Linked DNA regions of Homo sapiens: region 2 is linked to region 1. The links are contacts of gene promoters, found by promoter capture Hi-C in blood cells and fetal thymus (Javierre and others, 2016). All regions are on one chromosome and are shown on one strand. Each heading gives the region's core, a stretch centred on a gene start or on the middle of the fragment in contact. The rest is flanking DNA. Distances are from core to core; before and after follow the strand shown. Region 1 holds the start of KCNAB1-AS1 (KCNAB1 antisense RNA 1). Region 2 overlaps KCNAB1 (potassium voltage-gated channel subfamily A regulatory beta subunit 1).

Region 1 (5,288 bases), core at 2,136-4,635:
GTAGTTGTGATAGGGATTAGAGCTGATGTATGTAAAGCACCTAGCACCGAAGGAGCTAGGAAAGCACAATGGATCTACATGGTGGAGGCTGAGGATGTCTTTCTCATTTGGCCATAGTTTCCTATTTTATTAAGTGCTGACACAGAAACTTTAAATAGTGGAGAGGGTTCTAAGTAATATTTAGTCCTTACACACACACACACACACACACACACACACACACACACACACTATTCTTTACTTGTAAATGGAGATGCTGCTTGCACTTCACCTGCCTGAGGAGGCCCACCTTTATTTCTCCTGGCCTTTACCACTTCCTTACCTACTTTTATTGCTATTTCAAGCTCTTTTGTAAAAGGCAGGTGTGAAAGCATCCCACCCCTCAGCCCCCTTGAGGACCTGGGTGGCATTACTGGTACTTGAAAGAAAAGGTAATGAAAGTAAAAAAGAAAAGGCTAAGTTGCTATCACATTTGTCAACTCTGGCCAGATGCTCATTAGCAACAGGCTAGAAGCCAAAAATGAAAGACCAGGCTGCAGCTTGGATCCAAAAATAAGGGCCAGGCTCTGTGGAAAATACTGACAGATGCGAGCCAGAACAAGGAAGAATGCTTTGTGTGCGTCATTTGAAAAAGAACACGTCCAAGCACCCAGACATAGGTCTTCATGTAGTTTATCTTAGTGGCCACAGTAGGGTTGCTCAGAGCATTGTTTTGCCTCCAAATCACATGGGATGCTTGATAAACATACAGATGCCCCAGCTGCAGCTCATATCTGCAGAATAAGAATCTGTGTGGGGGTCCTGGGGGATTCTAATGCACCCTGAAGAGTAAGACCTATTGATCTGAGATTGGGAGAATTAATGCTTGAGCTATGATGGAGGCTGGTAAGCACTTAGGAAATTTCACTGCATTCTCCCAAAAATCCTGTGAACTAGTTATGATTATTACCATTACCATCCCATCTTGCTAGTGAGTGGTGGAGTCAGAACTCCAGCCCAGGCCTCCTGATGTCCCCTTACTTACTTAGCCTTTTATTCTAGGCCTCACCAGCAAGAGGGTATCTTCATTCCATGCCCTTCAATTGGTAGAGAGTGCCAAGGGCAAGAAGCCAATTCCTCACCTCCATTACCTGTCTTTACATCCCAGCGCCATCATGGGCCTTCCCCTCAGGCCAGATTTCTAAGAATTTGGTTCTGTTTGTTTTGTTTTGATTCTGCATGAAATAAAGAAGGTTAAGGTAACTATGTAGCTTCCCTCTCTTATTGAAATAACAGTGCCCTCTCTACACCATCCCGTGATTGCCAGGGTGCAGGAGCATGTCTGCTGGATTTAAATCCCAGCTTTTACTCCACCACTTACTAGTTATTTAAACTTTGGGCATGTCATTTAACCTCTGGAAAATAGAGATGGCAGCAATTGAGTAAAAGAAGAAGAAAGGCAAGTCAGGGTGTAAAGAAAAGGATGGGCTGGATGCTGTGGCTCACGCCTGTAATACCACCACTTTGGGAGGCTGCGGTGGGCGGATCACAGGGTCAGTAGTTCAAGACCAACATGGCCAACATGGTGAAACCTTGTCTCTAATAAAAATACAAAAATTGGCCGGGCACGGTGGCACGCGCCTGTAATCCCAGCTACTCAGGAGGCTAAAGCAGGAGAATTGCTTGAACCTGGGAGGCGGAAGTTGCAGTGAGCCCAGATTGTGCCACTGCACTCAGGCCTGGGTGACAGAGCGAGACTCTGTCTCTGAAACAAAAACCAAAACAAAGCACAAAGGAAAAGGATGAGATGCTACCGGTATGAGAAGAATATAAACTGTGGTTCTCAACCCTGACTGCAATTAGAGTTATCTGAGGATCTTTTAAAAATACTGATGCCAGGATTCCACTCCCAGAAATTCTGATTTCACTGGGGTGTGGTGAGGAATCAGGTCAGCAATACCATTTATATCCCCCCAGGATATTCAAATGCGCAGTTGTGGTTAAAAACCTCTTGTTGAAGATAGTGAGGAAAACAACCAACGTTCCACAAATGCTCTCTGGTTAGAGACACTTTCTTAGTAAGGGTGAGAATGCTTACTGATTGAACAAGCAATTATTACTCACTTACCCTGTGCCAGGCTCCAGTGCAATGGCTAAAATTTAAAATTTAAATTAAACTTAAACTTAGTCCCTGATCTCAGGATAGTTGCAGTCTAATGAGGAAGTCACAGCCAAAAATAAACTATGCGGTTACAATATAGTGTGGTCAATATGGTAATAGCAGTTAGTTCAAAATGGTAGGAGAAGAGTAAATGGAATGACTTCTTCTCCTTTCAAAGAAACCATAGAATCATGAAATAATAGAGATGAAGGAAGCTCAAGGTTCCTAATTTTGTGCATAAGGAAACAAGAAATCAAGAGATTGGAGGTTTCTCAGAGTCACAGAGTTAATGCAAGAGAACCTAAAAAATTCTAATGATGTAGCAAGACATACTTTAACTCACCAGGGGAAGTGCTAAGAAACTATGGCTTAGCAGCACTGGACTCTGAAGCTGGAGTTCTGGGTCCTGAAAAATAAGTAGAATTTGGACATAAAGGCATGGGGAAGGTTTAGATTTTCAGTGGAAGGCTCAGCCCATAGCTCAAAGGAGAACATGCTCACCAGGGTAATGACCTGGAGCTTAAGGATCTCAGGTGGTGGCCAACAGCTTAGGGCTCCCTCCTCCACATCAACTCTAGTTTTGGGCTTACACCTATTTCTTGCTGGATACGCAATTTAGAGGGATGCTCCCACCTCCAGTTCCACTCCTCTTTGGGGGTTATACTATACAACTGAGACATTGAACATGTTAATTTTACCTGGTGTATTGCTTAATTTCAATGTGACCTAGGGTTTGAACCTCTTATCTTAAATTCTTTAGTGACGTAACAGATTAACACCTCAAAATAGATGAAATGTCTCTCAATTATGACTACATTTGGTCAGTCTTGACTATATTAAGCTGCAGTTCACATGTGCTCTGTTTACCAAACTTAAAATCATTAAATCTATATTGAAATGTGTTGAATTGGCTCTCCATTCTCCCCATACTCTGACCTTGGTGTTCTCCTAGAGGTTTCACCTTCTCTCACACCCTACACATCCTTTTACACCAGTAAATACTATTGCTTCCCCTTCAAAATTTATCCAAAATTCAACCACTCCTCGCCATCCTCACTACCACCACCTTGGACCAAACCACTGTCATGTCTCACCTGGATTATGGGAACAGCCTCCTAACTGGTCCCCCATGTTTCAGCCTCGCCTCTGCAGTCTATCCTTAGCACAATAGCAGAGTGTTCCTTTTAAAAGAAAGTCAGATTGTGTCACTTCTGTATTCAAAATTATTCACTAGCCTTTCCTAGGTCCTTCCTATGATTGACATGACATGATCTGGCCCCCATGAACCTCACCTTCTCTTCTCTGGCCACACTGGCTTCCTCCTTGTCCTTGCTCATGTTGAGCAAGCCCCTACCTCACTGCTCCCTGCAACTGGAACACTCTCCCTCCAGATAAGCGCCTGGTGAGCCCCTTCACTTTCTTTAGGTCTTTTCTTGAAAGCTCCTTTCTTAGTGAATCTTATCTGGCCACCCTATCTAAAATTTCAATACTGATTCCTAGACATTTCATATACTCTATCCCTGCTTTATAAAATTGATTCTCTAACATTCATCAGTCAACATTATGTATTTTATTTTACATTTTATTTATTTGTAAAATTAACATTTATAAACACTATATATTTAACTTATTTTTGTTATTCCTTTTTCTTTACCCATATATCTGTTTCACGATGGGAGAAATAATTACCAGTTTTGTTCACTGTTGCATCCCAATAAACTAAGTACAACACCTGGCACACGGTAGACTCAATAAATACTTGTTGAATGAAAAAGTGAGGAAATGTTAACTGTGGCATAATAAATATTAATATTATAATTGCATTTACATATTCTCTTCTTGATAGCTATAATAATATATTCAAACCATAGGGAGACCAACCTGCACTATAGAATTTTATAACCTTAAGATGATTTAGACCCAAATTAAGGGACATTCTACAGAATACTTGATGAGTACTTTTAAAAGTGTCTACATCATGAAAGACAGGGAAAGACTGAGGAAGTGTCACATATTGGAGTGGATTAAGAAAACATACAATTAAATGCAATGTTGGATGCTGCTTAAGATCCTGGAAGAGAAAAAAAGACAATGAAATTCCAAAAAGATCTATTGTATTAGTACTGTACCCATGTTAATTCCCTGGTTTTGATAATTGCACTATGGTGATGTAAGATATTAAAATGATCTCATCTAAATGTCTAAATATCCTTTATACTCCAAGCAAGGCAGTCATTTAAATGGTAAACATGTTTTTTGAATGAGTACGCAAGAAGTAATTACCCTGATAATCACCAAACGATAATGAGGTAACCAAGATAGATGTGTGTGGTGGGCAGTTTTCTTCTTTTTACCTTTCATCCATCATTTTTCTGTGCTATGGTAGATTTACTCCAAGGAACCTAACACAGGTTTTCAAAGCAAATATTCCTTGGTCCATAAAGGGGTTTAATCAGAAGACACAAAATAGTTCAAAGAGTTATCTTTATACTCTCCCTTCTTTTAAAAGGTTAGAAATAACAATTGTCAGTTTAGTAAAATCATCTTGTAAATAACATCCCACTAATTTGAGATTACACAGTGAAATAATTGTATGCCATTCTAGGTCTCAGGAAAGCATGTTCTCATTAGAGGGAGAAAAATGGTTAAGAAAACTGTCACAGAGGGTTTTTGAGAATCATATTAACTAACAAGTCACCTTAGTTCTTCTGGAGTGGAGCACAGTGGAAAATAAAATCATAGAAACAGAGTTCTTCTGTCTAGAAGGCTGTTGCCCCGTTCCTCTCCAGCAGGAGGGGATGTGTCCTGTCTGTGAGAGGCAACTCCTCCTCAGGAGTAGAAAGTGGACCCCACCTACACTGGGCCACTTACCCATCTGCTTGCTGGAGGCATTTCAGCCAAGGAGAAAGACTTTCCCTTGGCCTTTTTCCACAAAGGGGCATAGCTGGGTGGGTACCCAGGGATAGGGAGAAACATTTCAATCATCTAGAGACTAGAAGAACTAAAGATTATTGATAAGCATTATTCATTTTTCTATAAGTCATAATAAAGATGTTTGTTTGGTAGGAAATATTCATTTTTCTATAAGTCATAATAAAGATGTTTGTTTGGTAGGAAATTATCCCAAAATTTTAAAGATTAATAACAG
Region 2 (4,811 bases), core at 501-3,000, 240 kb before region 1:
GTCTTTTACTTGCTATAAGTTTTAATTTGCAAAAATTGTATTTGTAGTTTTTACCGCTAGGGTTATAGTGAGATAATTTTTTAAAGTTTTTAGATTATCTTTGACAAGTTTTGGTATTAGTGGTGTGATATTTTAACATACACACAAAAGATGATCTTTTCATCTTTTGTATGCACAGTTGGTAAACTATGGTATGACCCACATGACAAATTATTCCCATCATTTGCTTTTACAAATAAAATTTCACTGGGAGATATTCATGACCATCCATTAATGTATTGCCTGTGGCTGCTTTCCCACTGCAGTGGCAGGGTTGAGTAGTTGCAATAGAGATTGTATGGTACACAAGGCTGAAAATATTTATTCTCTGGTCCTATAAAAGTTTGCTGATCTCTGATTTAGCATAATTTAGATAGCATAGAAATGCTTTCTGTCTCTTGATGATCTAGAGGAGCTCACTCCTGAAACAAAAGCATGGGCTCTAGAGTAAGATAGCATTGGGTTTAAAACTCAGCTCCAGCCCACATTATTAATGATGTGATGCTGGGCAACATACTTAACCTTCCTATGGACCGTTTTCCCCAACTATAAAATGTGAATAGTAATAAAAATAATAATACTTGCTTAAAATAATACTATAAAGAATGAAATACGTTAACACATGTTCAAAATACTTGTCAGAATGCTAGGAATGCATACATTCTTAAATACAAGTTATTGTTATGTTTCTCTTGGGAGAGTTTTTTGATACTGCCGTCAAATCATGTTTGTTTTCTGCAGTACCCAAAGGCTATTTGCTGCCAAAGATATATTCTTAAATTAAGTAAATTAGTTTTTTATCTGAAAGTATTTTTTCCAATCCAGATTCTTTCTATCAAATATATGTTTTTCAAATCTTACAGAAATAATATTTTCTAAAGTTTACTCTGTCTTTTCAGCAAGTCTCTTTTATAGTTTTGTATTCTTTCTTGCTTTGATTCTTCAGATCTTCTTCTAAACTTCTGTGATTACTCATATATTCAGTGATTGTTTTTCATTTGTGCATCAGGGGGAATCATCTTTTGCTCATTGCTGGGACTGCAGATAGGTCCAGATCATACTTATTTGGGTCTTTCTCCAATATTTCAGGTCTGGGCACAGGGTGAAAAGAAGAGCTTAGAGTAGAAACCAAGATGTCAGTGGGAGTAGGAAGACAGCTATTGTTTATTTAAGCTGTAAGGCTGAAAGCTTCACTTGTCCAAAAAAGTTTATTTTCTATGACGATTACATTCATAAGTTAGCTGAGCACTTTCCAACCACTATATTTACTGAATTATTAGGAGCCATGCACTCCCAGGTGGGGCGGGACTGAGATTTGCCCTCCTACTCATCGCTGCATGGCCTTCTCTTGTCTCCAGCTCCTGTCACTTGTAGAGGTTTGGCTCAGGGTCTCATTCACTAACTTCCCAGGTGGGAAATTACTTTTTAGGTTATGACTCAGGGTTTGGTAGGCTCCTTTTAAAATCTAGTCTTACATGTATTTTATCTTATAGGCATTTTCAAAGTTACCAGCATATAGAAGAGACACTTCCCTCTGTTTAGAACTGACATAAATTCTCTATCTCTATCCATTTGAATAGAAATAAGGGGCAAGCTGGCCGGCCATGGTGGCTCACACCTGTAATCTCAGCACTTTGGGAGGCCGAGGCGGGTGGATCACTTGAGGCCAGGAATTTGAGACCAGCCTGGCTAACATGGTGAATCCCCATCTCTACTAAAAATAACAAAACATTAACTGGATGTGGTGGCACATGCCTGTAGTCCCAGCTACTCAGGAGGCTGAGGCACGAGAATCGTTGGAACCCAGGAGCCGGAGGTTGCAATGAACCGGATTGTGCCACTGCACTCCAGTCTGGGCGACAGAGTGAGACTCTGTCTCAACAACAACAATAACAACAACAACAAAAATAAATAAATAAAAATAAGGGGCAAGCTAAGTTGGGCAGCTAGGATGATGGACTCGAATCAGATGTCAATTGATTTTCTTATTTTTTTAAAAATTGTGGTATTCAAACACAAGAGAAAACATTTCTATCAAATAGCCAACATGTACAACACAAAAATTATATATCTCTTAAATACCTTGGCAATTGATAATTATATTAAGTGAGTTTTGTAAATTACTTGAAAAGATAATTGTAAGAAGACTTCTTTTCTTTGCCAACTCTGGGGTAAAGAAGGGATTCTTAGAAAGAACATTTTCACGGAGAAGGCAAAATTCCAAGTTTCCTTTCTCAAGCTTAATTTTCATAGATTGAGCTATATTGGTTCTATATCTGTGTCCATAAGTCAGTTATTCAGATAATGAAAAAAACATTTAAACATCCACCTTGGTATGAATTTTTGGTTTCCGTGTTTTAATTTAAGCCAAAATATTTTTTGGTTTGAATTTATTATTTCAATAAATAATAGTGAAATTATTTCACTATTCCACTTTGCTTTGCATGTGTGAATTAAGCCAGTGGAAGCTTCAGGTGTAATAGAATTTGATGGCGTTAATAAATATAAAAGTGAATTTGCACAAAAAATATGAGATGAACAGTAGGAACACCTGGCATGGGACAGAACATCCTTGTTAGTATGCAGGTAAATTCAGTTACTTTCATTTTCTTTTCTCCCCTATACATTGGTTGTCAGGTCCGATCGATCATCAAGTCCAGTTGTTTCTAACACCTAGCTCTCTCCCTAAACTACCCGCTCCTTCCTCTGCACTGAGACATAATCTCTTGCCCCCAAATTCAGTGGCCTCTGAAGAGGTGCTTTTAGACTCTGCCCTCCTCTAATCCCCATTGTCTGTCCTACATTGACTTCTAAAATATGGATCTGGCCTTGTCAATACCCTGACTAGATGCTTTAATGCCTTTAAGGATAAGAACTGAAATCTTTACCATTGCAAAAAGTGGTCTCAATCATCTGTGCAATCTGAGACTTTCCCCAGGCCCTTCAGTCCAGGCACATGGATAGTCCTGTTGTTCCTAGAAGACGTCATGCTCTTTTATGCCTCTGTGCACTTGTACATGCTGTTTTGTTTGCCGGGATCACCTTTGCCCCTTTACTACATTACTGTGCACTGTCCTATCATATTCTACCTTCAAGAATCAGGTAAAACATCACCAAGCCCATTTGGGGAGTTTGCACTCCCCAGTTTTTGGCCTCTGGAGCATTTGCACGTATCTTTATTTGATGATGGTTCCCTAGCATTCATTCCCTCTTTCTTTGACCAGTGGTTCTCAGATCCCTGGGGATCTGTCTCTCCTCCATTGTCAGGTTATGGGGATTGGCTTGACCTCACACTCAACCCAAATGATGGCTCTCACTGACTTAAGAATATTTCACTTTCCTGGCTCCAGTGACTGGCTCAAGGGTGATCTGAGCCAGTCCAATTAGCATGAACCCAAAACCATACTGTGGTTGTGACACACAGACATCACTTCTCTTCTGGGTTTGGTGGTATGAGGCTTAGATTCCTATGACCATCCCCCTGCAACAAGGAGAACCTTCCTGAGGCTATAAACAAGCACTTTAAGGAGGAAGAGTTGAGAGAAGGAGCCTAGAAACATCAGTGAACCCCCAAATCAGGGCAAGGCTAAAGCTAGTTCTGCCTTCTAAACTACTCTTCATGAGCCAAAAACAAATAAAAGTTAACTAACTGAAACTGACTAACCACCATTTTTTGGATAACCCAGCATAGGTAAAGTTTGTTTATTTACATTTATCTTTGCATTTCAACATATAACAGCCACCTGGGGACATCATAGTTATTCAGTAAGCGTTTATGAAAAGATGGGAAGGAAGGAGACTTGTAGTTTTTCCTAAGTATTTTCTGCTTGGCTATGTAAGTAGCAAAACTTTGCTCTGATATTTTTAGATTTCAATCCTTTTGTATTTTATTTCTTGGAAAAAATATGGAAAAAATGTTTCAGTAAAAGCAAAGGACTTACACAAGAAAAAATCAGGAATTTCTGTTTCTCATTTATTTTTACCAAGGAGCCTATCAGAGAATTTGCAGGACGTGACATTGTCTGTCCCTGGAAGGCACTAGAAATTGAGGGACTGTAAATTTGCAGCTGTTGAAATAAAGTGTTAGATTTTGGTTTTTAAATAATACTCTATTTTGTGCCAATTATCTTCTTTCTCCAGATGCACTCTCTTTGCTTCTCTACCCTGCTCTGCAACCCAGAAGGCAGACCTGCATGGCCTACATCAATAAGAGGCCTTATCATTTGGTTTGGCCAATGGGAATCCCCAGCAGGTGGCAGGGTGGGAGTAGTGGGTAGGAGTAGTGGGTAGGAGAAGAAGAAAATGTGGTTGGGGTATTTATGTCCCCATTGGGTATTTATACTCTCCTTGCAGGGGATCATCTAAGGCTGACTCTGTCTCTTGACCAGAGGTAGTTTAGTCCTTGATAATGGGCTCTAGGCAGCCTACTCTTTATGACTCTGTCTACCTTGGTTCTAGCAAATATTCCCTCCTCTCTTTTGCAACTCACCCTAGGTTACTGCAGCAACCCTTACAATTCTTCTACACCTTTGCAAATAAACTCATTTGAACTGCCTAATTTGAGTGTGCCATCTGTTTTCTGGTGGGAACCCAAGTGATACATGTATATTTCAGAAATAAAAAAATTAAACAGGAACAATACAAATCTAATCCACTTTTATGCCGCTACATGAAATATTATCTTTTAAGATTGGTGGAAGAATAGAATCCATGTTAGCTGTGCCCATAGAAAAATGACTAAAAAGACAAATCAGAGAGGAGAAATGCTTAGA

Evidence for each region. The method cuts DNA at HindIII sites, captures the fragments that hold promoters and counts their contacts. A CHiCAGO score of 5 or more calls a contact.
Region 2: a fragment that was not itself captured here is called in contact with the fragment with the promoter of KCNAB1-AS1 in region 1 in 1 of 17 cell types (endothelial precursors); the score reaches 7.1 in endothelial precursors.

What each region holds. Positions count from the first base shown.
Region 1 is chr3:156,443,551-156,448,838 of GRCh38, forward strand. It overlaps KCNAB1-AS1 (KCNAB1 antisense RNA 1), which reads right to left and starts at 3,386. Exons shown (of 3, transcript NR_046618.2): 1 at 3,235-3,386; 2 at 2,484-2,546. All of the region lies in intron 2 of KCNAB1 (potassium voltage-gated channel subfamily A regulatory beta subunit 1), which reads left to right. The HindIII fragment of the contact is 8,289 bases long and covers 1-5,288 here.
Region 2 is chr3:156,202,914-156,207,724 of GRCh38, forward strand. All of the region lies in intron 1 of KCNAB1 (potassium voltage-gated channel subfamily A regulatory beta subunit 1), which reads left to right. Among named protein-coding and RNA genes, the nearest start is that of KCNAB1-AS2, 23 kb to the right of the region's middle. The HindIII fragment of the contact is 1,051 bases long and covers 1,226-2,276 here.